7 separate regions of the Homo sapiens genome follow, and all the other regions are linked to region 7. The links are contacts of gene promoters, found by promoter capture Hi-C in blood cells and fetal thymus (Javierre and others, 2016). All regions are on one chromosome and are shown on one strand. Each heading gives the region's core, a stretch centred on a gene start or on the middle of the fragment in contact. The rest is flanking DNA. Distances are from core to core; before and after follow the strand shown.

Region 1 (4,236 bases), core at 1,674-4,173, 640 kb after region 7:
CAAAGATATGAAATTAAAATTAGGGTTTTCAGGTTGATAGAAGTGTTTGACAACATGGGTGTTTGGAGAAATCTCAAATACCTCCCGAGAGAAATTGTCAACTTTACAAAAAACTGGCCTGTGAACCTGAAGACCTAAGTTTTATATCTGAGTTCCCCAAATGTGCCAAAGACCCTCCTACTGCAACTCCCTCCATATTTTTTTTTTTTTTTTGACATGGAGTCTCACTCTGTTGCCTAGGCTGGAGAGTAGTGGCATGATCTCAGCTCACTGCAACCTCTGCTTCCTGGGTTCAAGCAATTCTCCTGCCTCAGCCTCCTGAGTAGCTGGGATTACAGGCACCTGCCACCACTCCCAGCTAATTTTTGTATTTTTAGTAGAGACGGTGTTTCACGATGTATGTTGGCCAGGCTGGTCTCAAACACCTGACCTCAAGTGATCCGCCTGCCTTGGCCTCCCAAAGTGCTGGGATTACAGGCGTGAGCCACCATGCCTGGCCCCTCCCACATTTTTATATTCTCAAAAAGATGATGCAATAATCAATAAATCTTTAAGAGAAAACCGTCATAATGTCAAATTTGAAACAGCAATACCTAGATAAATCCAAATCTACTTATGCATATGCATATCATTAAAGTGCATTTTTATCCTTGCCCAGCTTTCTGTTTACATACTAAGAGAATGAAATTGTCAACACTATCAAGATTATGATGTTTTAGTTTTTGTTTCTTTTCAATAGGAACATTTGAAACTTCAAAGCAGAAACTGAAAGCAGATGTTTAGGTTTGCCTGGTGTGAGCTGAAACCCTTTCCTCATTATTTATTAAAGGTCTTTAGTTTTATGTTACTGATTGCAAAAAGGAAATTTGCAGGGAATAGGGGTTTCCTGTTAATTTTTCTTGCCAGGTGCTGGAGAAAGATGCAGTCGACCATGGATGGAATTACAGTGGGGCCTCCAGAGGAAGGTCTATATATGATCACACATTACGGTCATAACTTAACATGCAATCTCTGGCAAAGTAGCTGAAACAGGCTATCTGAAGGTCAGGAAAATGAGTAATGATGCATTACTTGTATTAGTGCTTGTTGGTTTTCTACCTATAGTCAGGCTGTCACAATGATAAATAACTAGAATATTTCATTGAAAAGAAAAATGTTGCTCTTTTGATTCCAAAGTAAAAGCAATTATTAATTAAGAGCATACATATTTTCAAAGCATTTTTCCCCCGTTTGGTTACCCCAAATATTGTGGACTTCTGCTTGTTTATTTTTCTACTACTTTGATATAGATTGAATCAGCCAAATGATGGAGAAGGAACAAAGCAGGAGAAGAGGTTAAAACATTGTTAAGAAAAATATTCTAATAAAATCCCACTCCAATTTTTTATAGTACTCTTTTTAGGCATCAAAATTAATGTCTACTCCATTGTTTCACTTCTCTCTAAACTATGTCCAAATAATAGAATTAAGTGAATTGATTGAGGTGTTATTAGACCCTTTCTTGCTTAGTCTTAGATTAGTACATGCCTAGATATTTTATAGTGAGACAATATATTTGATTTCAAATATCAGTGTATTTAATTTTTTAAAAATTAATTACTTCTTTACATCAGTTGGATATTCTGAATTATCATGAGTATATCCCTGAAAAGGAGACATATATCTTTGAATTATAGATCTCAAGGAATTTGAAACAGTCTAGAGAAAAGTAACCTTAATCTTAAAGCAGAAATAAATCTATCATAGAAATAGGACTGGAAAAAAGAGACATTCATGGCCAGGCATGGTGGCTCACACCTGTAATCCCAACACTTTGGGAGGCCGAGGTGGGTGGATCACCCGAGGTCAGGGGTTCGAGACTAGCCTGGCCAACATGGCGAAACCCCGTCTCTACTAAAAATACAAAAATTAGCCAGGTGTGGTGGCACGCACCTGTGATCCCAGATACTGGGGAGGCTGACGCAGGAGAATCACTGCAACCCAGGAGGGGGAGGTTGCAGTGAGCCGAGATCATGCCACTGCACTCCAGCCTGGGTGACAAGAGTGAAACTCTGTCTCAAAAAAAAAAAAAGAAAGAAAAGAAAAGAAAAATAGTCATTCATATGCTCTACTGCCAAATCTTAGCTCCGTCCCTAACATGATGAGTGCCTTTGGGCAAGTCACTTAACACCCAGTTGCCTCATCGACAAGACAAGAGTCCTGGACTAAATGAACTTTTTTGTACCTCTTGCGTTCTTCGACACCAACATTTTTCCTCCAAGGGTCATTAGTCCACTGAGGGATAAGAAGAATTGATCTAGAGGTACATTTTTTTTTTTTTTTTTTTTTGAGACGGAGTCTCGCTCTGTCGCCCAGGCCGGACTGCGGACTGCAGTGGCGCAATCTCGGCTCACTGCAAGCTCCGCTTCCCGGGTTCACGCCATTCTCCTGCCTCAGCCTCCCGAGTAGCTGGGACTACAGGCGCCCGCCACCGCGCCCGGCTAATTTTTTGTATTTTTAGTAGAGAGACTAGAGGTACATTTTTAAAGTAATTTACTTTTGTGGTGGGAAATAGAAAACGAATGAAAAATAGTAAGTATAGAAGCCTCTCTGAAATATTTAATAAATAAACTCATTTAGCTTTAGATAATGGTTGACTGAGGTGAAAAAATTCAAAGGGGAGAGAGAAGAGAGAAAGAAAATTGGGTATGTGTATATTGCACCATAAGTCACCATTTTTGTAGGTCACAAATGGTCCATTATTAGCAATTTATATGGTTCAACCTAATGCTGTAGCTGTAATTTTTGAATATCAAATTTGGACAAATCTATAGGGCTATCAGGACAATACCAGTTTTTGAAGAATACCACAATGAAAGCAGAAATATTAGACGAACATGGCAAATCCATGTCTTTGGGATCTGTAGCCCAACTGGGTAGTAATAAGTGTTTCACTAAAGTGGTCTCCGAAGCAAAACAAAAGCAACAAAAGGTAATTAAGATAACTACCATAACAGTGGAACTGCTTAAAACAATACAAATATAGTTCTTCCTAATTTATCATCAAATAGTAGAGCCTCATGTGGGTTCATTCTGGAAGCATTCACTTACTACACTTTAACACTTTTTAAATGCTCCATTTTGTGAGTAATTTAATTATCTTCCAATTTGGAACATATTGCCTCTTATTTGTTTTAGCTATCCCTGAAAATTCTGTGAAGGAAGTCCTCAGAGCACCTGGTACCATCAAAGACAGAATCAAGAAGTTGCTTGCTCACAAAAACAGCATGAAAAAGAAGGCAAAAATTAAAAATGTTACCCCAGAACCCACCAGGACTCCTACCCCTAAGGTGAACTTGCAGCCCTTCAACTATGAAGAGATAGTTTCCAGAGGCGGGAACTCTCATGGAGGTAAAAAAGGGAATGAAGAGAAAATGAAAGAGGGGCTTGAGGATGAGAAAAGAGAAGAGAAAGCCCTGAAGAATGACATAGAGGAGCGAAGCCTGCGAGGAGATGTGTTTTGTGAGTGTTATTTTTATTTTATATGTTTTATGAAAAATGAATTGCAATTTCTCCTGGCAAATGAAAGAAGACAAAAAGCCGGTTTCACAGCTTAAGTAAAATGGGTTGGGTCTTAAGTCCTGAGAAGCAACATTCTCTGTAATGTCTAGAAACGAATACCTTCTGCAAATACCCAATCAAACCTGCTGCTCTAGGAACCAAGGAGGGGAAGTCCTGTTCCCCTACTTGGGGGGTTTCCTATTTGACACAGACCTTCTCTTCTAGCTTCCAGCCAAGGAAGCCTGCTAGTCCTGCAAGGGCAGTGGTTTGGCTGCCCAGCTCTCCATGAGGCATGCCCCCAAATCAAAGAGAGGCTCACCACATGGATCTGCTAAGCTCTACCTTTTTATTTCTTGAAGGCACTTTTACAGGCCTAGTCTATGAAAATGGAACCTCACAGTTGTATGGTTGTGATTTTAAAAGCCAAAATCGACAAATGTAGGAGGACAAATTTTATAGTGGAGCTTAAGTTTTCTATGTGAACTAGAGAACTGCCGTAACTCCCTTTTCACTAGTTGCTGTGCAGAACCCACCATAAGGCTCAGTCCCCCCAGGAGGGTTTCCATATTAACCCACCCTGCATCTCTACACTGAGACTTTCCCATTCATTCTGGCTGGGCATTTGTTGCTCCCTCTATATTTTGCCTTATCTAGTCTCGGCTCTGTGACTGGTGGTCATATATACAAATGCCAGAT
Region 2 (3,821 bases), core at 155-2,654, 790 kb after region 7:
TGTTTGTGAAACTTCTCACAGCTGAAATCATAGCAGTCTCCTATCAATAAAAAATAGTTGAATGAGGATAGAACTCTTTCGCATGCATGTGTTGCCGAGGGCAAGCTTCTTTCTTGTAGCATCACGGGGAGGCATTGCAGGAGAGAGGGGCAGGTGCACTGGCTTTGCATTAGGAAAGCCCAGTAGCTCTTAGACTTGCTAACCGTGTGACCCAGCCTCAGTAAGCTTTAGTCCCCCCATCTGTAAAATGGGAGCAGTGAGAGTTTCTTGACCACAGTGTTGTTGTGAATGCAGGTCCTCACTTCCTTATATGAAACTCGGGCCATATGCTGTGGATTTCGCAATAGCCCTGGGAGTTCTGAACAGCATCCTATAGTAAAGCACATTAATTATTTTGCAGTCAACTGTATGAATATTCATGCTGGGATAAATAAAGATTATAAATGGGTTTACATCAGTTCAGGTCAAACTTTTCAACCAAATGAGTTCAAGTCTGGTTGGGCTTTGCCACCAAATAAATTATGAATAAATTTTCAGTTCTCAGAGCCTTGTGGCTTTCAAAATTGTGCATAATGGATTCTGAAATTATATCATGTTACAAAAGACATACAAAGCTGTAGCTGGTACAATAAGCTCTCAGTAAATGTTAGTGGTTATCGTTACCATGGCTTCAGAAACTGTATAGTGCAAGTTTGTCCTTATTACTCTCTTCCATTTTTCAAAAAAATAATATTCTCAAGTATATTTTCTTCTCTGCCTTGTCCACTTACTTCTGAAATTGGCTTTTTGTACCCTGCAGCCCTAGAGAATGAAGTGTACTGCAATCCAAAGCAGTCTGTGATCGATCGTTCTGTCAATGGATTAATAAATGGCAATGTGGTGCCTTGCAATGGTGAGATAAGTGGGGATTTCTTGAACAATCCTTTTAAACAGGAAAACGTTCTAGCACGTATGGTTGCATCAAGGATCACAAATTATCCAACTGCATGGGTGGAGGGTAGTTCCCCTGATTCTGACCTTGAGTTTGTAGCCAATACTAAGGCAAGGGTCAAAGAGCTTCAGCAAGAGGCCGAACGCTTGGAAAAGGCTTTCAGAAGTTACCATCGGAGAGTCATTAAAAACTCTGCCAAAAGCCCACTAGCAGCAAAGAGCCCACCATCTCTGCACTTGCTGGAAGCCTTCAAAAACATTACTTCCAGTTCCCCGGAAAGACATATTTTTGGAGAGGACAGAGTTGTCTCTGAGCAGCCTCAAGTGGGCACACTTGAAGAAAGGAATGACGTCGTGGAAGCACTGACAGGCAGTGCAGCCTCGAGGCTCCGCGGGGGCACTTCCTCCAGACGCCTCTCTTCCACACCCCTTCCAAAAGCAAAAAGAAGCCTCGAAAGTGAAATGTATCTGGAAGGTAAGCCACCCGCACAAAGGGTTGCGGGGTGCTCTGGAGTTGGGTAGCCACCCTGCCCACGACACAGGGTTGCCGTGAGGGTCAGCGGGCCAGAGTGGCAAGGTCTAGTGTTTGGCACACAGAGCTGTTTAGAGAGTGATAGTTGCCTTGCCTTTGCTGCCTGTTGGTTTCCTGCATTTTATTATTGCCACTGCAATTTAATTTAGGTGCTTGAATCATTAGTTTTCTGGATCTTATGCATCATAATTGGCTATTTGTGAGGATAACAGTTTATTTTCAAACTAGTAGAGCTCTTTAGAAACCACGTTGGTATCTTCTCCGTGCAATTGGTAATATTCTTGCCTTGGTTCTTTCTGCACCTTAGGTCTGGGCAGATCACACATTGCTTCCCCCAGTCCTTGTCCTGACAGAATGCCCCTACCATCACCCACTGAGTCTAGGCACAGCCTCTCCATCCCTCCTGTCTCCAGCCCTCCGGAGCAGAAAGTGGGGTAAGTATAACGTTCTGATTGATTAGCTTCAGCTGAATAATGTTACTTGCTCTGTCAGCCTTCACTTGTTTTACTGGGATTTTTTTTTTTTGAGATAATTATTATAGATCATGTGGCAGTATAGAATTTGCAATCAGATTGCAAAATGATATGTCATCTTTGAGAATCATCTAAATTACCTGGAGGGAAAAAGATTGCTTTTAGCAAATAAGTGGATAATGCTTATTTGCTAAACTTGATATATGGACCATGCAATCTGGTATTAATAAGCATCTTCCTAGTTCTGTGAATAGATTTGGTTTATTAAGATAAAAAACAAATGTACAAAATCTGAAAGCAAACAAATGGAGGTTATTTATAAAGTTGGAACAATTTTACACATCATTAAAAAGTCATTTTTAAAATATTTTGGCATTGAAATATAAACAGATAAGGTTCTGACCTGCATATCATTGAAATAAATTCAAACGTGGTAGCAGGCTCTGGTGTATGATTGTTGAAACAGGAAGGAGTGGATGTTTTTAGAAACTAGTCCACTGGGTCAGCCAGGCTATGATTTGAGTCATGAGCAGACTCCTACCCATACCTGGGCCCCACAGCAGAGGGAACTGACTCCTTAGCTCCAGGCTCGATCTCGGGCATCTGCATGTTAATGTAGTTCTCTGCCACATGGGCCTGTCGTAGTCCTAAAGCTTTTTTTTTTTTTTTTTTTTTTTGTGATAAGCCAAAAGGAAGGATAAGACACACACATATGCTGAGTTAGGGCGCTTTGCTCACTCAAGGTTGTGGTGTTGCATCTTCATCTGGTTCATGCTGATAGTGTGCAGAATTTTTTTTCAGAAATGTTTTATGGTTATTTCCTAGGAATAGCATTCAGAGTACAACATTATTCTTTATTAACAACTGTAGTACCTACTTCACAGCATGAAATAGTTACAAGGAGTAACTGATTAAACAGGTATTAATTGCTGAGAACAATGCCTAGTGGTGGTGGTGAGGTGGAGCTATTTACAAGACAAAGAGAAAGGGAATTTTGTAGAGCCTTTTCTTGAGTCACAAAAGGCTTTTTGTCACCTTGTACTCTTTGGTTTTCCATTATTGAAACTTCACGAGTTTTATCCTTCCAATCTAGTCTTTATCGAAGACAAACTGAACTTCAAGACAAAAGTGAATTTTCAGATGTGGACAAGCTAGCTTTTAAGGATAATGAGGAGTTTGAATCATCTTTTGAATGTAAGTTCAAATATAAATACCAGTTTTTATATGTTGAAAATCTAGAAAGCTTAGTTTTGGTGAAACGTATCCATTGGTTTAAAAAGAAAAGCAGTTACAAATTGGGTCATTATTATTTTGTGATACAACCACAAGTACAGATGTATCACCTCATTTTTCTACCATGATGATTTTCATGTGTGTGTTTACTTTTTAAAAATTTCAGTATGACTAATAATTTCAGAGTTTGAGCTAAGCTTATAAATGAATTATTAACTTATCAGATTTTAAATAAGTGATTTTTATTTATTTTTTCCTTTGATGGAATACAAGAATGTTTATTTTTATTTTTTTGAGATGGAGTCTCTCTCTGTTGCCCAGGCTGGAGTACAGTGGTCCGATCTTGGCTCACTGCAATCTCCCTCCTCCTCCCAGGTCCAAGTGATTCATCTGCCTCAGCCTCCCGAGTAGCTGGGACCAACCACAGGTGCATGCCATCACACCCAGCTAGTTTTTTTGTATTTTTAGTAGAGATGGGGTTTCACCATATTGGCCAGGCTGGTCTTGAGCTCCTGACCTCAAGTGATCCGCCTGCATCGGCCTCCCAAAATGCTGGGATAACAGGCATGAGCCACTGCGCCCGGCCTAAGGATGTTATTTTTTAAATATACTGATTCAGTTGATTGCCTCAGATTTAGAAAACCTCATTTTTA
Region 3 (4,216 bases), core at 988-3,487, 700 kb after region 7:
CTGTTAGCATGCATTACAGACTGTACTTGGCTATATGTTAGTAATTCTAGAAGTGACTCTTTGAAAATAATTTTCCCCAAATCATATACATAAACACTATTTGTAACTCACGAGTTTTTTAAAGTTTATATGCATTTATTTTTGTTATAATTCAGTGGCTTTTAGTATATTCACAAAGTTGTGCGATTATCATCATTATCTAATTCCAGAATGTTTTCATTACCCCAAGAAGGAATCCAGTACCAGTTAATAGCCACTCTCTATTCCACCCTCTTCCCAGCCCCCAGCCCCCCAACCGCCACCTACTTTCTGTCTCTATGGATCTGCTTATCCTGGACATTTCACGCAAATGGGACCATACAATATGTAGGTTTTTGTGTCTGGCTTCTTTCACATCATTTCTTTTTTCTTAACTCAAGAAGTAAACCATATTTTACTAACCAAATAAACTATACTGACCTTTACTTAAAGTACATCTTTAGCTGAATTTGCATAAATAATTTGACATTTCTACCTGTCACAATTATACTCCTTCCAACTTTTGTGTCAAAAATTATTTTTGATTAACCACATGCAAAGCTTGACATTTTGAAATTCAGATACTCACTGTTATCTACAGATGAAGGTCACAAGATTTTTTTTTCTTTAAAAAAAAGGAAGCAAGGATATTTTACCCTAGTTTTGTAACTTATTTGGCAAAAAAGAATTTAATGAAATTTCATCACTAGAGCCATTGTGTTTAGTAAGGACAAAATTTAGGAATGCTTAGAAGTTGGATCAATTTTTTTCTCCCCTGTATGTCTCCTCCCAAACATACATATCCTGTGGTATAAAATATGTAGGCCGGGCATGGTGGCTCATGCCTGTAATCCCAGCACTTTGGGAGGCCAAGGCAGGTGGATTGCTTTGAGCTCAGGAGTTTAAGACCAGCCTGAGCAAAATGGTGAAACCCTGTCTCTACTAAAAATACAAAAATTAGCTGGTGGCTCATGCCTGTAGTCCCAACTACTTGGGAGGCTGAGGCCAGAGAATTGCTTGTTGAGCTGAGATTGTGCCACTGCACTCTAGCCTGAGAGACAGAGTGAGACCCCATCTCAAAAAATATACATATGTATGTGTGTGTATGTGCGCGTGTGTGTGGGGGTGGTATACAATTGTTTGCATTGCATGACTTATTGAAAAGTAATCTGTTCCTCACACAATTCCATTATATCTCTAAGCTACAGAATTCCATACTTAGCCCATCCTATGAACTTCCTTTATTCCATCTCTGCTCTATCTTATCACTGCTTTATATTATTTGTGAACATGTTTTATTTTTTTTTCTTTAATTGCCCATCAAGTTTCCTATGCAGGTCTTAGTAGTGAGATTTACATCCCCTCAAAGCCCCAAGGTTTAACTCTAGGTTTGGCAGATGCTTAATGCAATTTTGCAAAATAGATTTTTACTTCAAATTACAGTAGAATTTCAATATGCCCTCATCTTTGCTTTGGTTTTGTACAGTGATGTCACACTTTAGAAGCCCTGCATCTAACCTTAATAAATGGGATCAAATATTACTATTACTAATGTTTCAAACCCAATCTCCAGAAAAATAGATTTTTCAAGATAAATTCATTTCATTCATGTTATGGAATTTAAAATTTACCAGATTAATAACAAAGCCCTGAGTTGGGCAATCAGGCAGGAGAAAGAAAAAAAGGGTATTCAATTAGGAAAAGAGGAAGTCAAATTGTCCCCGTTTGCAGATGACATGATTTTATATTTGGAAAACCCCATCGTCTTAGCCCAAAATCTCCTTAAGCTGATAAGCAACTTCAGCAAAGTCTCAGGATACAAAATCAATGTGCAAAAATCACAAGCATTCCTATACACCAATAACAGACAAACAGAGAGCCAAATCATGAGTGAACTCCCATTCACAATTGCTTCAAAGAGAATAAAATGCCTAGGAATCCAGCTTACAAGGGATGTGAAGGACCTCTTCAAGGAGAACTACAAACCACTGCTCAACAAAATAAAAGAGGACACAAACAAATGGAAGAACATTCCACGCTCATGGATAGGAAGAATCAATATTGTGAAAATGGCCATACTGCCCAAGGTAATTTATAGATTCAATGCCATCCCCATCAAGCTACCAATGACTTTCTTCACAGAATTGGAAAAAACCACTTTAAAGTTCATATGGAAACAAAAAAGAGCCTGCATTGCCAAGGCAATCCTAAGCCAAAAGAACAAAGCTGGAGGCATCACGCTACCTGACTTCAAACTATATTACAAGGCTACAGTGACCAAAACAGCATGGTACTGGTACCAAAACAGAGTTATAGACCAATGGAACAGGACAGAGCCCTCAGAAATAATACCACACATCTACAACCATCCGGTCTTTGACAAACCTGACAAAAACGAGAAATGGGGAAAGGATTCCCTATTTAATAAATGGTGCTGGGAAAACGGGCTAGCCATATGTAGAAACCTGAAACTGGATCCCTTCCTTACACCTTATACAAAATTAATTCAAGATGGATTAAAGGCTTAAATGTTAGACCTAAAACCATAAAAACCCTAGAAGAAAACCTAGGCAATACCATTCAGGACATAGGCAAGGACTTCATGTCTAAAACACCAAAAGCAATGGCAACAAAAGCCAAAATTGACAAATGGGATCTAATTAAACTAAAGAGCTTCTGCACAGCAAAAGAAACTACCATCAGAGTGAACAGGCAACCTACAGAATGGGAGAAAATTTTTCCAATCTACCCATCTGACAAAGGGCCAACATCCAGAATCTACAAAGAACTTAAACAAATTTACAAGAAAAAATCAAACAATCCCATCAAAAAGTGGGCAAAGGATATGAACAGACACTTCTCAAAAGAAGACATTTATGCAGCCAACAGACACATGACAAAATGTGTATCATCACTGGCCATCAGAGAAATGCAAATTAAAACCACAACGAGATACCATCTCACACCAGTTAGAATGGCGGTCATTAAAAAGTCAGGAAACCACAGGTACTGGAGAGGATGTGGAGAAATAGGAACACTTTTACACTGTTGGTAGGACTGTAAAGTAGTTCAACCATTGTGGAAGACAGTGTGGCAATTCCTCAAGGATCTAGAACTAGAAATACCATTAGACCCAGCCATCCCATTACTGGGTATATACCCACAGGAGTATAAATCATGCTGCTATAAAGACACATGCACATGTATATTTATTGCAGCACTATTCACAATAGCAAAGACTTGGAACCAACCCAAATGTCCATCAATGATAGACTAGATTAAGAAAATGTCGCACATATACACCATGGAATACTATGCAGCCATGAAAAAGGATGCGTTCATGTCCTTTGTAGGGACATGGATGAAGCTGGAAACCATCATTCTGAGCCAACTATCACAAGGACAGAAAACCAAACACCGCATGTTCTCACTCATAGGTGGGAATTGAACAATGAGAACACTTGGACAGAGGTTGGGGAACATCATACACCAGGGCCTGTCATGGGGTGGGGAGAGTGGGGAGCGATAGCATTAGGAGATATACCTAATGTAAATGAAGAGTTAATGGGTGCAGCACACCAACATGGCACATGTATACGTATGTAACAAACCTGCGTGTTGTGCACATGTACCCTAGAACTTAAAGTATAATTTAAAAAAAAAAGCCCTGAGTCATAACAGTCTGTGTTAGATTGTATTCTTGTTCAAATATTTGATGACCCTCCCGGTGGGACCATTGTAGGATACCACATCACTCAGATCAGGCTTTTCCATGTGATTTGCAATGTCCCTCTCTTTAGGAAGATTATACATCACGATGTGTGACTTGCTTTGGTGAACATCATATGAGGGGAGATGATGAACATCACTTCTGTGTGGAAGCTTCAAGAGCCAGCAGGGGTTTTATTTTTGGTCTCTTTTCTCTCAACCAGTGATACCTGCAATATATCAGACAGAAGCTGATCCATTAGCTCAGGTTCGTCAGGTCCAGAGGGAAGATGACATGGACGGGAACCACAGCTGACCCATAATGGACATTAAGGTGAGAAATAAATCTTTGTTTTTATAAGCCACTGAGGTTTGTGGAGGTCATTTTTTACCACAGCGTAACTTAGCCTAAGCTGACAGATAAATAAGTTTTAAGAGAGATAGAATTCCATTTACCTGCATTTATATTATGAATCCCAGTAAGCTTAGA
Region 4 (4,250 bases), core at 103-2,602, 540 kb after region 7:
ATTTTAAAAGGGCACGTGCAGAATATTGCATAGTTGTTGTGCAAAAGTTTTTGATATGCAAAAAGGATATCTTAGGTCCGTTATGGTGGCTCACACCTGTAATCCCAGCACTTTGGGAGGCTGAGGAGGGATGATTGCTTGAGCCCAGGAGTTCAGGATCAGCCTGGACAACATGGTAAGACCTCATTTCTTTTTTTTCTTTTTTTTTTTTTTTTTTTTCAGAGGAAGTCTCGCTCTGTCACCCAGGCTGGAGTGCAGTGGCAGGAGCTCGGCTCACTGCAAGCTCCGCCTCCTGAGTTCATGCCATTCTCCTGCCTCAGCTTCCCAAGTAGCTGCAACTACAGGTGCCTGCCACCATGCCCAGCTAATTTGGTGAGACCTCATTTCTACAAAAAACACAAAAATTAGCCGGATGTGGCGTGCACCTGTAGCCTCAGCTACTCAGGAGGCTGTGGTGGGAGGATCATTTGAGCCTGGGAGGTAGAGGCTGCAGTGAGCTGTGATCACACCACTGCACTCCAGCCTGAGTGACAGAGTAAGACTCTGTCTCAAAAAAAAAAAAATGCAATGACAGGACAAGAAATAACTGTTTAATGTATTAAGCCCCTGAGAACTGGAGGTTGTTTGTTACCCAAATTAGTGTTAGTTTCCTTAATATAGTGACATGACAGAGAAGTATTTTAACAGAGTTGAGGAGATAACAGCTAGATTGTTGTGGGTTTAGAAATAAAAGGAGGGGTGAGGAAGTGGAGACACTGGGTTGAAATTGGTCTTTTGACAGAAAATGGAAGAAGTGAGATAAGAGAATAGCTTGAGAAGGAGGCAGCAGTATGGGACAGTTTTTCCAGAAGAGGGAGACTTGAACAAATATTTACACCTTAGCACACAGCACAGTACACAAGAGATGCTATAAGTAACTGTTGAAGTAATGAACAAATGTATGAACAAGTGAATTAAAATGTTGAACATATCTTACCACTTCTGAGGCAAATCTCAGGAATATTTTATTGGGGAAAGAGGAACACCCAGGAATTTAATGTAAATAATTCTTTTATTTATTTATTTATTTATTTATTTATTTATTTATTTATTTATTTATTTCAGACAGGGTCTCACTCTGTCACCCAGACTGGAGTACAGTAGTGCAATCACAGCTCTCTGCAGCCTCAACCTCCCGGGCTCAAGCCATCCTTCCACCTTAGCCTCCCAAGTAGCTGGGACTACAGGCACACACCATCACACCCAGCTAATTTTTGTATTTTTTATAGATTTGGAGTCTCACCATGTTGCCCAGGCTGGTCTCAAACTTAAGTGATCTACCAGCCTCAGCTTCCCAAAGTGTTGAAATTGTAGGCGTGAGCCTCCACACTCAGCCTAAAGAATTCTTTCATGAAGGGAAGCACATGATAAATGAAAGAAGACTGCAATGGGGTCAAAGGTCAAGAAAGAAATTTGGCAGCAAAATGAGAGGCACCTCTGAGCTAAGGGATCATTTGTCTTCTCAGCAGACAGGTCTGAGCGTGAGATTTTGTGAATGGTGTCCTCCTCTAAGGAGAGACTGTGGGTTCCTTGTGTTTCCCACAGCAGACTGTGAGGGGAACCTCCTGGATGCTTCCTGGGACCAGCCATGCAAGGGTCACTCTGGCCTGCATTCAATTTCTCATACTTTCAGGAATTACAGGCACTTTTCAAGTTAAGAAGTCACTCTAAAAAGAATCACGAAGACATACTGACATTGTGATAGCTGCAGACTTCTTAGGGACTCTCAAAGTGTGAAGGAAGGGAAGTAAAGGCACCAACACAGCTTCTTAGAGCCTTTCCTCCCTCCTCTTTAATACAAATGGTAGCACGTGGCACATGCTGCTATACCCTTTGCTTTTTGCATCTAACCATCATCACAGGTTGCTTACTGTGAGATGAAGATTTGTATGCAGGAAGTTCATTGGTGGGGACCCTGCAGATCAAGACTTCTGGGAGAGTAAAGGAAGTCAGACTGGGCAGAGGGAGGATTTGGGCTGCTATGCAAGTCACAACAAAGACCTATGCAATCCTGCGAGAGTTCTAGACTTGGGAGGGCTCTGACGAGTTGTCTCAAATTAGCACAAAGAGGCTAGGCCTTTATAACCTCACACTGATCAGTCATTAGAAGTGGGCTGCCCAAGAAAGGGGTCACAAACTTGGAGAGGTGGCTTTCTTCAGCCAAGGGCAATTTCCAGACGGGAATTCAGCTGTAAAGTGTCATTTGCCAACTTTTCCAGCATCCGAAGGGATAAGTGCTTCAGTCCTGGGGAAGTGGGGGTGGGGTTATGGCTTGGAGTCCTTTCCATATTGATATAAAAAGAGCTGCCTGGTTCTTTTTCAAAGATGCATGGTATTCCATTGTATGAATGTATAATAGTTTATTCACTAGTTATTCAACATTTAAAATTTTTTAAAAATTTTTTGTGGGTACATAGTGTATATATTTATGGGGTACATGAGATTTGATACTGGCATGCAATGCATAATAATTACATCATTGAAAATGAGGTATCCATCCCCTCAAGCATTTCTCCTTTGAGTTACAAATAATCCAGTTATACTCTTATTTATTTTTAAATGTATGATTAAATTATTATTGAATATAGTCACCCTGTTTTGCTATCAAATACTGGGCCTTATTCATCTATCCTAACTATTTTTTGTACCCATTAACCATCCCTGCCTTCCCTCCAGCCCCTCTGCCCCCAACTACCCTTCCCAGCCTCTTGAAATCATTCTTCTATTTTTTTTGAGACAGAGTTTTGCTCTTGTTGCCTAGGCTGGAGTGCAATGGCGCGCGATCTCAGCTCGCCGCAACCCCTGCCTCCTGGGTTCAAGCGATTCTCTTGCCTCAGCCTCCTGAGTAGTTGGGATTACAGGCATGCACCACCATGCCTGGCTAATTTTGTATTTTTAGTAAAGGCAGGGTTTCTCCATATTGGTCAGGCTGGTCTCGAACTGCCCGCCTCGGCCTCCCAAAGTGCTGGGATTACAGGCATGAGCCACCGTGCCCGGCCCATCCTTCTATTCTCTATCCCCATGAGTTCAATTGTTTTGATTTTTAGATCCCCAAAGTAAGTGAAAACATGCAATGTCTGTTTTTCTGTGTCTGGCTTATTTCACTTAACATAATGATCTTCATTTCTATCCATGTTTTTGCAAATGACTGAATCTCATTCTTTTTTATGGCCAAATATTACTCCATTGTGTATATGCACCACATTTTCTTTATCTATTCATCTGTTGATGGACACTTAGGTTGCTTCCAATCTTAGCTACTGTAAACAGTGCTGCAACAAATACAAGAGTGCAGCTATCTCTTCGATATACTGATTTCCTTTCTTTTGGATATATACCAAGAAGTAGGATTGCTAGATCATATAGTAGCTCTATATTTAGTTTTTTGAGGAACCTCCAAACCATTCTCCATAATGGCTGTACTCATTTACATTCCCACCAACAGTGTCTGAGGGTTCCCTTTTCTCCACATCCTTGCCAGCATTTGTTATTGCCTGTCTTTTGGATAAAAGCCATTTTAACTGGGGTGAGATGATATCTCATTGTAGTTTTGATTTGCATTTCTCTGGTGATCACTGATGTTGAGCACCTTTTTATTTATCTGTTTGCTATTTGTATGTGTTGTTTTGATAAATATCTAGTCAAACCTTTTCCCCATTTTTAATTGGATTATTAGATTTCTTCCTATAGAGTTGTATGAGCTCCTTATACTTAATTGACAGTTGGATTGTTTTAAATCTTTTCTATTCCAAAGTATACTATAATATGTAACTTTGAATTAAGCTTTTTCACATTTGTAGGAGTTTATCTGCATAAATTCCAGGGTAAGTTTCTAGAAGTGGTATTTCTGGAGCAAAGTGCGTATAGCAATGAGGGCCCTTCCAGCAAAACATAAAAGGAGGTTGAAGGGCGGGCAGGCAGTGAATCCTGTAAGGTCCAGTCGACTGTATCATGGACTTTGTTTTTGTTTTGTATCATGGACTTTGGATCTTAGTATATGTGCAATAAGAAAACGTTGATGAATTTTAAGTGGAAGAGAGAAATGATGCCATTTAATTTTTCCAATTAGGTCACCTAGATTGAAGGCCAAGAGCAGAGGGCCCAGAACAAAGTGCTGAAGAACCCCAACATTTAAAAGTTGAAAAAAGAAAACAAGCCAGTGAAAAAGATAGACAATGACCTAAAATGGACATAACTTTCATTGAGATGTT
Region 5 (3,975 bases), core at 46-2,545, 730 kb after region 7:
ATGCCTGCTCTCCCTTTGGCAGCTTATTAAGGAATGTAGTCGTTTTTCAGCATTTGCCAGCTCCCTGTCGCAGTCAGTCAATAGTACTTATTTTAAAGTGGGATTCTCATTGGGATTGCAAGTAAGAATCAATGTTTTTGTTCCTACCCACACATTTTAATAGACCTCAAAAATAGAATGCGGGGAGAACTGATAGAGAAACAAAGAATTTTAGGTACAGAAAGCACAAATAGAATAATAATAGAATAACAAGAATAAAAGAGGAAGTAATATACTCTTCGTTCTCAATGTAGCATTTATTTGCACCTCACCAAATGTAGAGCATTGTACGAGAAGTGGCAGAACAAAAAAGGGACAAGTGAATGGATGCAATTAGGTGTTGTGTGTCCCTCCCAGGGAGTTGACATTGTAATTAGGAAACAGACACATACACAACTGAAGGTGATTAGAGCATAAGTAAATGAGAGCTGTAAAGAGGTGGAAATGATGAGAGCAAAGAAAAGAGAAAGATTAGGTTGCTGGGGCGGTCCTGGCTTCCTACATGAGGTAATCTGGACTAGGCTTCTGATGACTAAGATTGTCATAGCTGTCGAAGTAGGGAGGGGCCTCCCAGGCCAAAGTAACAGCCCGAGCAAAGATATGGACAGAAAATGCCAGTGATAGGTGCGGGGATGGTGAGTAGTAGGGATATAATTGGGACAGGCTTGTAACTGACATTGAATAGCTCTTTGAATGCCATGCTCAAAATCCTGTATAATAAAAATAATAAATAAATGAATTTAGTTATCTGTCAGAATGGAGACAATTAGATCCAGGACCAATAAAAAAAGTCTAACTTCAGTCACATACACAGTCATATTAGAGATTTATATTCTTTTTTTTTGGAGACAGAGTCTCACTCTGTCACCCAGGCTGGAGTGCAATGGCACAATCTCGGCTCACTGCAACCTCTGCCTCTCCAACAATCCTCCTGCCTCAGCCTCCCAAGTAGCTGGAACTACAAGCAGGCACCACCACACCTGGCTAATTTGTGTATTTTTTGTAGAGATGGGGTTTCACCATGTTGCCCAGGCTGGTTCCTGAACTCTTGGGCTCAAGTGATCTGCCCATCTCGGCTTCCCAAAGTGCTGGGATTACAGGCATGAGCCACCGTGCGTGGCCAGCAGATTTAAATTCTTGATGCTTGGACCTTGAGGCTTTCTATTCTTCCCCTTGGTTTATTGTAGGATGTGGCTTTGGAAGCCAGCAAGGGGTTGGAGAAGGCCAGAGAAAAGGGTACTACTGATAAACTATTCATGAACAATTGATAGTATAAGATAAAAGTACATAATGGAAAAGTTGGGAAAATAGTGTTATAAGAAGGAAAGGGTTAACATAAAATGTTCTTTTGTCTTTTGAATTTTGCCGTATCTGCTGGCAATGTGGTTCATTTGTTTTCCTGCCAGTGACCTGCTTATCCAACTTTACATTCGGATTAGTGTATGACACATACAGCATATGTTGGTACCGGCACGTGGTGTGGGAATCCTAAAGTAGTGTCTGTTGTACATGTAAATGATTTATTTAAAGGGATGCTGCTGAAGGGACAAGGAGAACATTTGTAGCTCTAGTAGTGTAAATCTAATTCTAGGGTCATATTTTTAATTCTCAGGAGATTTGCACATATATTTTCACATACAGTAAAAATTTTTTTTTTTTTCAAGGTAGGGTCTCACTCTGTCACCCAGGCTGGAGTGCAGTGATGTGATCACAGCTCACTGCAGCCTTGACCTCCCCAGGCTCAGGTGATCTTTCTACCTCAGCCTTCTGAGTAGCTGGGACTACAGGCATGCGCCACCATGTCCAGCTAATTTTTGTATTTTTTGTAGAGATGAAGTTTTACCATGTAGCCCAGGCTGGTCTCAAACTCCTGAGCTCAAGTGATCTGCCTGCCTCTGCCTCCCGTAGTGTTGGGTTTACAGGCGTGAGCCATGGCGCCTGGCCGAATTCACCCTTTTAAAGTATACAGTTGATTGGTGTTTATAGTATATTCACAGAGTTGTACAACCATCACTACTATCTAATTCCAGAATATTTTTATTACCCCCCCAAAAAAACCCCATACCCATTAGCAGTCCCTCCTCCTTTACCTGCCACTGCCCCCCGCCCCATCCGTTGACAACCATGAATCTACCATCTCCATATTTGCCTATTCTGAACATTTTATATAAATGGAATCATACAATAGGTAGCCTTTTGTTCTGACTTCCTTCACTTAGCATAATGTTTTTGAGGTTTATCTACGTTACAACATTGCATGGATGTATGATGCATTTTATTTATCCATTCATTAATTGATGGACATTGTCTTTCTTTTTAGGGGAAGGTGGTTTGATAATAGTATGGGTATGCATTTTTTTGGTGCAATCTAAAACATTGACAACTCAGAAATGTATGGACATTTCTGTAATTGGATAGTACACATCCATGTAATGTGGGTTAAGAGAGCATGTTTCACTTTTATTAGACATAGTAGGCATGTCAATTACAGAATTCCTTATGGTAAATGGTAGAGGCACGCACAGGATGGTTAAGAGTGTCGAGGAAGGGGGTTCAGTTGGAGATGTCCAGTAGGTGTTCGGGAGGAGGTGAGGTCTAGCTGCATCCACACGGCTGACTAGGAGTTAGACAGGTAAAGGGCCAGGGATTTGAATGTGAACAAGGTAAAACACGAAGTCATATAGTAAATATCTTACTGGAGGATCAAGTGTGAGGTATAACCACCTCAATTTTCATTCGTAAGCCCAGCTGACACTGTTAGTGGAGAGGGATCATAGCAGCATCCATCCCAGCTTGTCCAAGGCCTTCCTCCCCACCTCACCCACAGCCCTTCTCCCATTGCATCCAGTTAGCTTTCTGGACTCCTTATCTGACCAGGTCACCCACTGCTGAAGCTATTTCAGAGGGTCCCCATCATTCCTAGAGTACAGGCAGAAATCCTTTCCATGGCTTCTACTCGCCTCCCTGCTCCTGGGCCTCTTCCTTCAGTCTTGTCTTTGTAGCATACTCTTCACTCTCTAGCCTCCGGGTGCTCAGGCCTACCTTGAGTTCTCCCAGTTCATGCCAGGGCCAGGCTTCTTTGGCAGGGCTTTGGCATGGATTGGTTCCACTTTCTGGTTCCTGCTCCCTCCTCTTTTCTCATAGTTTTCTCTTTCTCCTGCTGAGCTTAGCCTGTGGTCAAACCTACTTCCCCTGGGTCAAATCTCCCTCCAGCAGAATCAGACTTTAGTGAGGGCTGTGTTCTCATGGCAGCACGTGGCTAAAATGATCATGGAGACATTGCTTTGGAACACATCACACTAGAAACCGATGTACAGTCTCTCATTAACACAGTGTAACACAGCCTAGTTTACCTCTGATATTAGAAGTTACCTCTTTTTCCTTAACTGTAGCTCAGCAAGTGAAATAGTTGGCCTGTGTTACAGGATCATGTTTGCATGTAAATTAAGTCCCCCAGGTGGCTGGACTCTCATGGACTCAGGCAACTCCGTAAGATAGTGGCATGGGGAATCTGAGTGTGATTGAGAGAGCCCCAGGTTTACACATTGTGTGTCTCACTCACTGAGGGAGATGGTGGGCAGAATCCCTTGCACTATTTTAAGGTGTTCTTCGATTTTTGGTTGAGTGTGAATAGTTGTACTTTGTACCATATACCTCTCATTTTGTGAGGTACAGTTGTGACTTAAATGCATTTTTGTGTGGATGTCACAAACTTGGGACTGTATGTGTGGCTTGTATCCTCAGGGTCTGGCTCATAGTAGGCACTCACTAAATACTTATTGAAAAATTCCTTTCCCAATCGTTCTACCAAATGGTAAGCTTCTGCAAAATTTGACTCATTTCATGTAAAACATTTTTTAAACTACTTAAACTCTAATAAAGCATAGACACTCACATGTGCTTTATGCTACATGTCAGTAAGATTGGAGATTACTA
Region 6 (2,832 bases), core at 1-2,500, 740 kb after region 7:
AGGATATGCCCCGCAGTGACAAATGCCGACACAAACCACTCGTTGAACTTGTCCACAGTTTTCAAGTACATGTTGTTCGATAGCCACATGTTCTCATCTACGAGGTCGAGAGCAGCATGAGCTATGAACTGGTTCAGATGACGATGGTCGTCCTAGATGACAGTGTGAGCAACCACAGATTAACATTTGCATATGGCATCGAGAATGCTGACATTTCATTCTGTAAATTCTATAGATGGTTTTCTTGTGGGGAAAAAACAGTTTGCTTTTATACTTTGTTATTGTCATGAGACTTATAAAAGATCTGTTTTCATATTATATTCTATTTTTAAATTTGATATCTACATCTCAACAGAAACAGCCAATTAATAAATGAAATGTGTATATAGAGGATTTATACAAAATCATTTATTGAAAATCTTTTTCATATAAATTTTTTTTCATGTTTCAAGAAGGAAGTTACCGAATTCTGTAACCATCTAAACATGTAAAAAAAGGATACTATGTTAAAAAAAAAAAAAAAAAAAAAAAAAAAAAACAAGATCCTGTGGAGAAGAGGTGCCATTCACACTAGGCCTCAAGGTCTGGGAGGAAACTGAGAGGGCGGGGCTTCCTGCACAGTGGCACCAGGTAAGCAGTAGAGACAGTTGAAATGGCGCTTATAACGGCCTGCCAGAGGCCTCTTTCCAGTGCATGGAGCTTACATGACAGCGGGACCTAGGAGTAGTGGGAGGTGATGCTCAGCCCCAGCTGTGAGCAGTCGCCTGTGTCAATAGCAGGACACAGTCCTGTCAGAGCTGGGAGTGTCCTTTTCCTGGGCTGAAATGGCTTAAGTGAACAGAAGGTGGGACTGTCTGACCATAATGTGAAGACGGAATTCAGAACTTGGAATGCAGTCTTACTCCAATGTAGTTCTTTGAAAATACATTTTTTGGCCAGGCGCGGTGGCTTATGCTTGTAATCCTAGCACTTTGGGAGGCTGAGGCAGGTGGATCACCTGAGGTCAGGAGTTCAAGACCAGCCTGTCCAATATGGTGAAATCCCATCTCTACTAATACAAAAATTGGCCGGCTGTGGTGGTGCATGCCTGTAATCCCAGCTACTCGGGAGGCTGAGGCAGGAGAATTGCTTGAACCTGGGAGGCGGAGGCTGCAGTGAGCCGAGATCACGCCATTGCACTCCAGCCTGGGGGACAAGAGCAAAACTCCGTCTCAAAAAAACCCAAGCCATTTTTCAAAGAATACCTGTTATGGGTTGAAGTGTTTCCTCTCTAAAATTCCTTTGTTGAAGTCCTAAGCAACAGTACCTCAGAATGTGGCCTTATATGGAAAGAGGGTTGTTGCAGATGTGGTTAGCTAAGATGAGGTCACACTGGAGTAGGGTGGGCCCCTAATCCAATGGACTGGTGTATTTAGAAAAAGGGAACATTTAGAGATGCACACAGGGAGAAAAATGCCACATGAAGACTGGAGTTATGCTGCCACAAGCCAAGGAACTCCCAGAAGCTGGGAGAGAGGCCTGGACAGACCCTTGTCTTTGTGCCTTCATAGGGAGCATGGCCCCACTGACACCTTGATTTCAGATGGTGGCCCTCAGAACTGAGACAATAAATTTCTGCTGTCCCAAGCCACTCAGTTTTTCGTACTTTGTTACAACAGCCATAGGAAACTGAGACGGCTTCCTTGCCAAGGAGGCTGTTCTCATGCCTGGGCTGGAGGAGGGCGGCCCGTTGCCGTGGAATCCCATGCATAGTTAAAGCATGTTTTACTTCACTCATGTTGCCATGACAAAGCTAAGTGAATCCTTAGAGAAATGGATGTTTTTGTGTCTGGCTCACAGCAGTGTTTTCTTTTACAATGATGATCAATCCTGAAGAATTAGGAGCAAACTGAAAACGCTTTAAGAAAGTGAGTGGTAGCAGGAGAAAGAACTAAAATCAAGTTATGCAACAAAGTATTTTTATGTGTGCTTTGTCCAACACAAGGGCAGTGGAGTGCACAGAAATTACATACAAGTAGCTGCATCCCACAAAGCAGTACTGGTACAGAGATACCTCAAAAACAAGTTTTAATGAGTAGTGTTCTCATAATATGAGAAAATAATGTCACAACTCCACCTCATAGAGAATCCCGTAAACAAATGCCTATCTTATTTTGGTGGCAAGGCCTGAATAGTTGAAAAATACCATATATTATGCATTACAATTAACTTAAAACATCAATTCCTTAAAGGACATTAAAGCCAATTTTTGGAGGTTGGGAGAAACATAGCAAACTTGTCAGCAATTTATTAGAAACAGAAATTGGAAAGAACTGGGCTCTTCTCGTGTCAAAACTCTACAGGTCTGGGCCAGGTGTAGTGGCTCATGTCTGCAATCCCAGCACTTTGGGAGGCCGAGGGCAGGCAGACCACCTGAGGTCAGGAGTTCGAGACCAGCCTGGGCAACATGGCGAAACCCTGTCTCTACTAAAAATACAAAAATTAGCCTGGCACAGTGGTGCGCACCTATAATCCCAGCTACCTGGGAGGCTAATACAGGAGAATTGCTTGAACCCAGGAGGCAGAAGTTGCAGTGAGCTGAGATCGTGTCACTGCACTCCAGTCTGGGCGACAGAGCAAGACTCTGTCTCAAAAAGAATAAATAAATAAGATCCAAATGGTTTTATTTTAAGCATTTGGGATGGTAATCTTTCTTAAAATATATGGTCCATTTCCTTGTCTCAAAAAAAAAAAATACTCTATGGGTCTGAATGGCAATATGTCCTCGAGCTAAGCTTGGTTTTTGGAACCATTCTTGACAAGCAAGTTGGGTGGTATCACCTCTGGTGCTGC
Region 7 (4,089 bases), core at 1,143-3,642:
GTTGTCATGTTTTATTTGCTGTAAAACTACCAAAAGATCTTCTATCAACATTTTGTAAGTGAAAATAATAATATATATTCATATGTATTAATTATATAGAAATAATATATAATAATATATAAATGTCTCTATAGGAGAAATAATATCAAGACACCTAAAATTTTTAATTAATTCTAAACACTAAGACAATTATTTTATTATTTTTCCTCAACCTTCCATCCTAAATCATACGAATAATAACAATAGAAAGAGCTTACTAATTGTCATGCACTGTCCGAAGCATTTACTCCTCCCAACAACCCTGTGAGGTCGGTGTTGCAATGAACCCATTTTACAGATGAGAAAACTCCAGCACAGAAAGATTCATTCACATGGCCAGAGTCATGCAACTTTTAAGAATATTCCTTTGGTTTGCATTTCCTTGTATCTGCACCACCCTTCCCTTTCCTGTCTCTCTAGGTCTCCTGACCGGTTGGCAGGTCAGTCCCAATCATGGGAACTCTTTTCCTTTAAGCAGTCGTCTCTCTTTCTCTTCCTCTCTGTTTCCACCTGCCCTCCATCAGTGTCTCAGCACAGTGGAAGGCTGCTTGCTACCGCACTGGAAAACTTCTCCAGACATTTCCAAGTTTGCATTCGTCCATCTCCTTTGGAGAATTGCTTCAGTGAGGCCTAACCCTTTCTGAGGAAAGGCCCTTGGGAGAAGAAGCCAGGAGAAGGTAGTGGCACTCCTTTGTCATCAGGAGACATTGGGAGGAAAGAAATGATTTTCGACAGCAGCTGGGTGAGGGGAAACAGAATCACAGAACCTGCGGAAACGGTGTCGGTACAACGGCAGCTGCCAGCTAAACGGGCGAAAAGGCACCCTGCAAGATCTTTTCTGTGTTTCAACGATGAAGTAGACTCCCAACATGGAACAGGGGCGGGGGGGCTGTTACCAGACAGGTGACATTTGGTGCATGCACGAACAGGTCCAGTGCCCCATTCGGAGGCCAGGAAGGCAGCCACCCAGCAGAGCATTAACTAGGGGACCAGACGGTCACCTGCCCCTGCTCACCCCCACCTCCTTCCTCCCCAGGAAAAAGGAAGTCAAGTAGATGGAGAAACGGGGAAGTCCAAGCTGCTGGCAGTGGCATTCAAGGGTCTATATATAAGGTTGACTCTAATCCCCAGCGAGACAAAAGCCTGTGCCATAAAAATGATTAGCAAGGGGTTTCTAAAAACATTTCCCCAGGCCACGGAAAAGGAGAAGGAATATTTTGCACACTGCCTTGTCTCTTAGAAATAATCACAGCTAGGCCTCTTTATAACCGGCGAGTCTTTTTCCTTTCACACGCCATTTGCAGGCGCGTGGCATGGTATTTGTAACTAATTTTCAGTAGCAAGTGGGTCACTGGTATTCACAGAGTCAGGTGCCATTTTGAAAACTGCTTCCCTCTACCCGAATCTCTTATATTTCCAGATGCAGATGCACTTCAGCGATGTCCTAGTGCTGGAAACGCTCCCTTGAAAATATAATTTGATTTTTGAATTTCATCTTAAGACATTAGAGATAATGTAACTGTAGTCTTTGGAATTCAACGCTGGCCTCCTTAGCCATCACTTTTAAAATTTATGAAAATAAGGAAGAGGAAGGTAAAGAACTTCCTCATTGTCCGGCAGTAAAGTCAATGGCAGAGCTTGAGCTTGACTTATTTTGCTAAGAGGGAGGTGTTTTACCCTATAAACTCCAAATTACCTTACACCCAGCAAATACTACTGTTGAGTGCTCACAAAAATTATGCTGATGAAACAATATGGATGTTTCAGTGATGAAACTTTCTCTTTTAAAATCACTTAAGGGTGCTTTACGTCCCACCCAAGGCAAGAGGAACGCCAGCGAGGAAGACAAAGAGGCCCGGGGTGGGGCGCATGCCCGCCACTGGACTGAAAGCTGAGTCACAGGAATCGTACCCCTGCAGCGGGCCAGGCCCTCCAGGGAGGGACACCGCGCCCTTGTGTGGAGATGTCCACAGTAGACAAAGGCAGTTTCGAAATAAAAGAATGCCTGTCACCCCAGGTGCCACCCCGACCCTTAGTTATTATGCACTGGTCCCCAAGAGCAATTTCTGCGCTGCTGTTGCAAAAATTCATCGTAATGAAATAAACGTAAAAGGGGAAAATGTGTTATGAAGTGTTGGAGGGTGCTTTGCTCATTTTTTTCGCCATCGTTGTGGTTAGGGTGCATGCACTAGTGGACCCCGGGTGGGGGTGGGGCTCCCCTCCCCAAAAGCCCGGCAGGCCTCCGGATGCCGTTCCGAGACGCGGCGCGAAGGAGTTAAGCGGGCCGGCGGGTGACATCACCTCATTTACATAGGAGCGCCCATAAAGCTGCGCCCGCCGCACCCCGCCCGACAACTCGGTGGTGGCCACTGCGCAGACCAGACTTCGCTCGTACTCGTGCGCCTCGCTTCGGTGAGCCCCAGGGCCCCTGCCTCCTTCCTCCTGCCGTCCTGCCTCCGTCCCCGCCCTTTCATCATCCGCGTCCCTGTGAAGGCATTCCCTAAATCCGAGCCCGAGTGGTTCTCCCCGGGAAGGCTACTTTGGGGAGCTGGGGGGATGCGAAACACCCTAGATACTGGATAATGGGGTGGGGAAATCGATGATTTAAGAACAAAACCGAAAAACTGGCGTTTTGCCGTGCCGCTCGGAGGGGACATTAAAAAATTTCTTAGTGTTTGCCCGCAAAGGTATTGTGCGTTGCCTTGGAGGCTGAGATATGGGGGAATAGACAAGTCCTTTGTTCTGAGGTTCATCTTCCGAGCCCCGAGCCTCCTCCCAGCCTCGGACGGCTGCGCGGGCTGCATCTGTGCAGCCTGGCGGCGGCGGGGCTGTGCTATGACATCTTTACAGTCCTTCTTGCAGAGACATGTGTGCCAGGGATGCCGAATTGCCGGGAGAGCAGGCAAGACCGGCTTCGGGGCGCGCGGCGGCCGCTTTGTGTGCGGGGCTGCATTGTGACGCGGGCGATGAAGCCGGTAGGGCGGTGGTCGGAAGCTCCAGCCGCGGCCGCCGCCTTTGTGAGAGGACTAGAAAGCCGGATCCGGCCCGCATCCTTGCGGAGAGGCCGCGGCTAGGAAATGGAAACGCTTTTCCTACCTGGGCTCCATTTTAGGAATTCTTGCCGATTTTTCCCACTTGAATTTGGAAGTGGCTTTCCTCTTCTTTCCTTGTCCTAGCCAGCCTTTAATTTTAAACGCTGTAATTAACAATTCGCAGTGGTCAATTTCCTTTATTCTGCAAGATTCGGCTTTGAGAGGCATCCGCCCTCTTTGGTCCACAGCGTTTTGAAATATGGGGAGGAGGGGCGCGGGGGGTGTCGCCTCTTTTTCTGTAGAAAGAGGAAGCTCGTGAGCGCGGAACGGCAGCAGTAGGAGAGCGAGAAGGGTTTTTTTCAGGCTGCGGGTCGGAGGGCAGAAGTGCAGTTCCCAGCCCAGAGACAGCGGGGCGGGTGGCTCTTCCTCACGCTCGCTCTTGGCTTGCTCCCTGCAGCTTTTCCTCCGCAACCATGTCTGACAAACCCGATATGGCTGAGATCGAGAAATTCGATAAGTCGAAACTGAAGAAGACAGAGACGCAAGAGAAAAATCCACTGCCTTCCAAAGAAAGTGAGCTCCGACCCACCCCCATCTTTAGAAAGGCTGGGTGGGAGCGGCCGGTGGGAGGGCGGGAGGCTGGGAGCGGCCGCGGGAAGAATTCGGGAGGGGGGAGTGCGGGGGAAGAGCCGACAGTTGATGAATGTGGCTTGCAAAGGTTAATTAAAAATGGTTTTGCAGCCAACAAACACGGGGCTTTAGTAATTTAGTAATGGAATATTTAATATGCCATATTAATATACAAACATTTATCCATTAAAATGTATTTCTATTTAGTATATTCAATATACATATTTTATTCCATTGTGGAATACCGTGTAGAATGTTTATGATTTGAAAAGATGCTTTAAATGAAAGCCCTTTAGTCTGTACTGAATCCTTTAATCATCTCCCTCCATCTTTTTTTTTTTTTTTTTTCTGGTCACAGCGATTGAACAGGAGAAGCAAGCAGGCGAAT

What was found. Contacts are between HindIII fragments. The CHiCAGO score rates a contact against its expected background, and 5 or more counts as called.
Region 1: a fragment that was not itself captured here is called in contact with the fragment with the promoter of TMSB4X in region 7 in 1 of 17 cell types (megakaryocytes); the score reaches 5.2 in megakaryocytes.
Region 2: a contact is called between a fragment that was not itself captured here and the fragment with the promoter of TMSB4X in region 7, in 1 of 17 cell types (total B cells). The highest score is 5.8, in total B cells.
Region 3: a fragment that was not itself captured here is called in contact with the fragment with the promoter of TMSB4X in region 7 in 1 of 17 cell types (M0 macrophages); the score reaches 5.9 in M0 macrophages.
Region 4: a contact is called between a fragment that was not itself captured here and the fragment with the promoter of TMSB4X in region 7, in 8 of 17 cell types (neutrophils, M0 macrophages, erythroblasts and 5 more). The highest score is 10.5, in neutrophils.
Region 5: a fragment that was not itself captured here is called in contact with the fragment with the promoter of TMSB4X in region 7 in 2 of 17 cell types (total CD8 T cells and monocytes); the score reaches 6.5 in total CD8 T cells.
Region 6: a fragment that was not itself captured here is called in contact with the fragment with the promoter of TMSB4X in region 7 in 4 of 17 cell types (naive CD8 T cells, total CD8 T cells, naive CD4 T cells and 1 more); the score reaches 11.3 in naive CD8 T cells.

The regions. Positions count from the first base shown.
Region 1 is chrX:13,614,553-13,618,788 of GRCh38, forward strand. EGFL6 (EGF like domain multiple 6) reads left to right here. Exons shown (of 12, transcript NM_015507.4): 8 at 3,178-3,501. Among named protein-coding and RNA genes, the nearest start is that of MIR6086, 26 kb to the left of the region's middle. The HindIII fragment of the contact is 6,179 bases long and covers 1-4,236 here.
Region 2 is chrX:13,759,316-13,763,136 of GRCh38, forward strand. It overlaps OFD1 (OFD1 centriole and centriolar satellite protein), which reads left to right. Exons shown (of 23, transcript NM_003611.3): 16 at 800-1,405; 17 at 1,770-1,896; 18 at 3,029-3,129. Among named protein-coding and RNA genes, the nearest start is that of OFD1, 26 kb to the left of the region's middle. RefSeq lists enhancers at 39-128, 1,435-1,934. The HindIII fragment of the contact is 2,363 bases long and covers 224-2,586 here.
Region 3 is chrX:13,676,539-13,680,754 of GRCh38, forward strand. No RefSeq gene overlaps it. Among named protein-coding and RNA genes, the nearest start is that of RAB9A, 10 kb to the right of the region's middle. The HindIII fragment of the contact is 3,321 bases long and covers 578-3,898 here.
Region 4 is chrX:13,510,683-13,514,932 of GRCh38, forward strand. No RefSeq gene overlaps it. Among named protein-coding and RNA genes, the nearest start is that of EGFL6, 57 kb to the right of the region's middle. The HindIII fragment of the contact is 4,936 bases long and covers 1-3,820 here.
Region 5 is chrX:13,699,089-13,703,063 of GRCh38, forward strand. All of the region lies in intron 1 of RAB9A (RAB9A, member RAS oncogene family), which reads left to right. Among named protein-coding and RNA genes, the nearest start is that of RAB9A, 12 kb to the left of the region's middle. The HindIII fragment of the contact is 5,121 bases long and covers 1-3,856 here.
Region 6 is chrX:13,716,527-13,719,358 of GRCh38, forward strand. It overlaps TRAPPC2 (trafficking protein particle complex subunit 2), which reads right to left. Exons shown (of 6, transcript NM_001011658.4): 4 at 8-152. It also overlaps a transcript of OFD1 not described here. Among named protein-coding and RNA genes, the nearest start is that of TRAPPC2, 17 kb to the right of the region's middle. The HindIII fragment of the contact is 3,043 bases long and covers 1-2,772 here.
Region 7 is chrX:12,972,718-12,976,806 of GRCh38, forward strand. It overlaps TMSB4X (thymosin beta 4 X-linked), which reads left to right and starts at 2,393. Exons shown (of 3, transcript NM_021109.4): 1 at 2,393-2,451; 2 at 3,529-3,644; 3 at 4,060-4,089. The coding sequence starts at 3,545. RefSeq lists enhancers at 830-899, 910-1,169, 1,190-1,309, 1,433-2,272, 3,112-3,950. The HindIII fragment of the contact is 8,223 bases long and covers 1-4,089 here.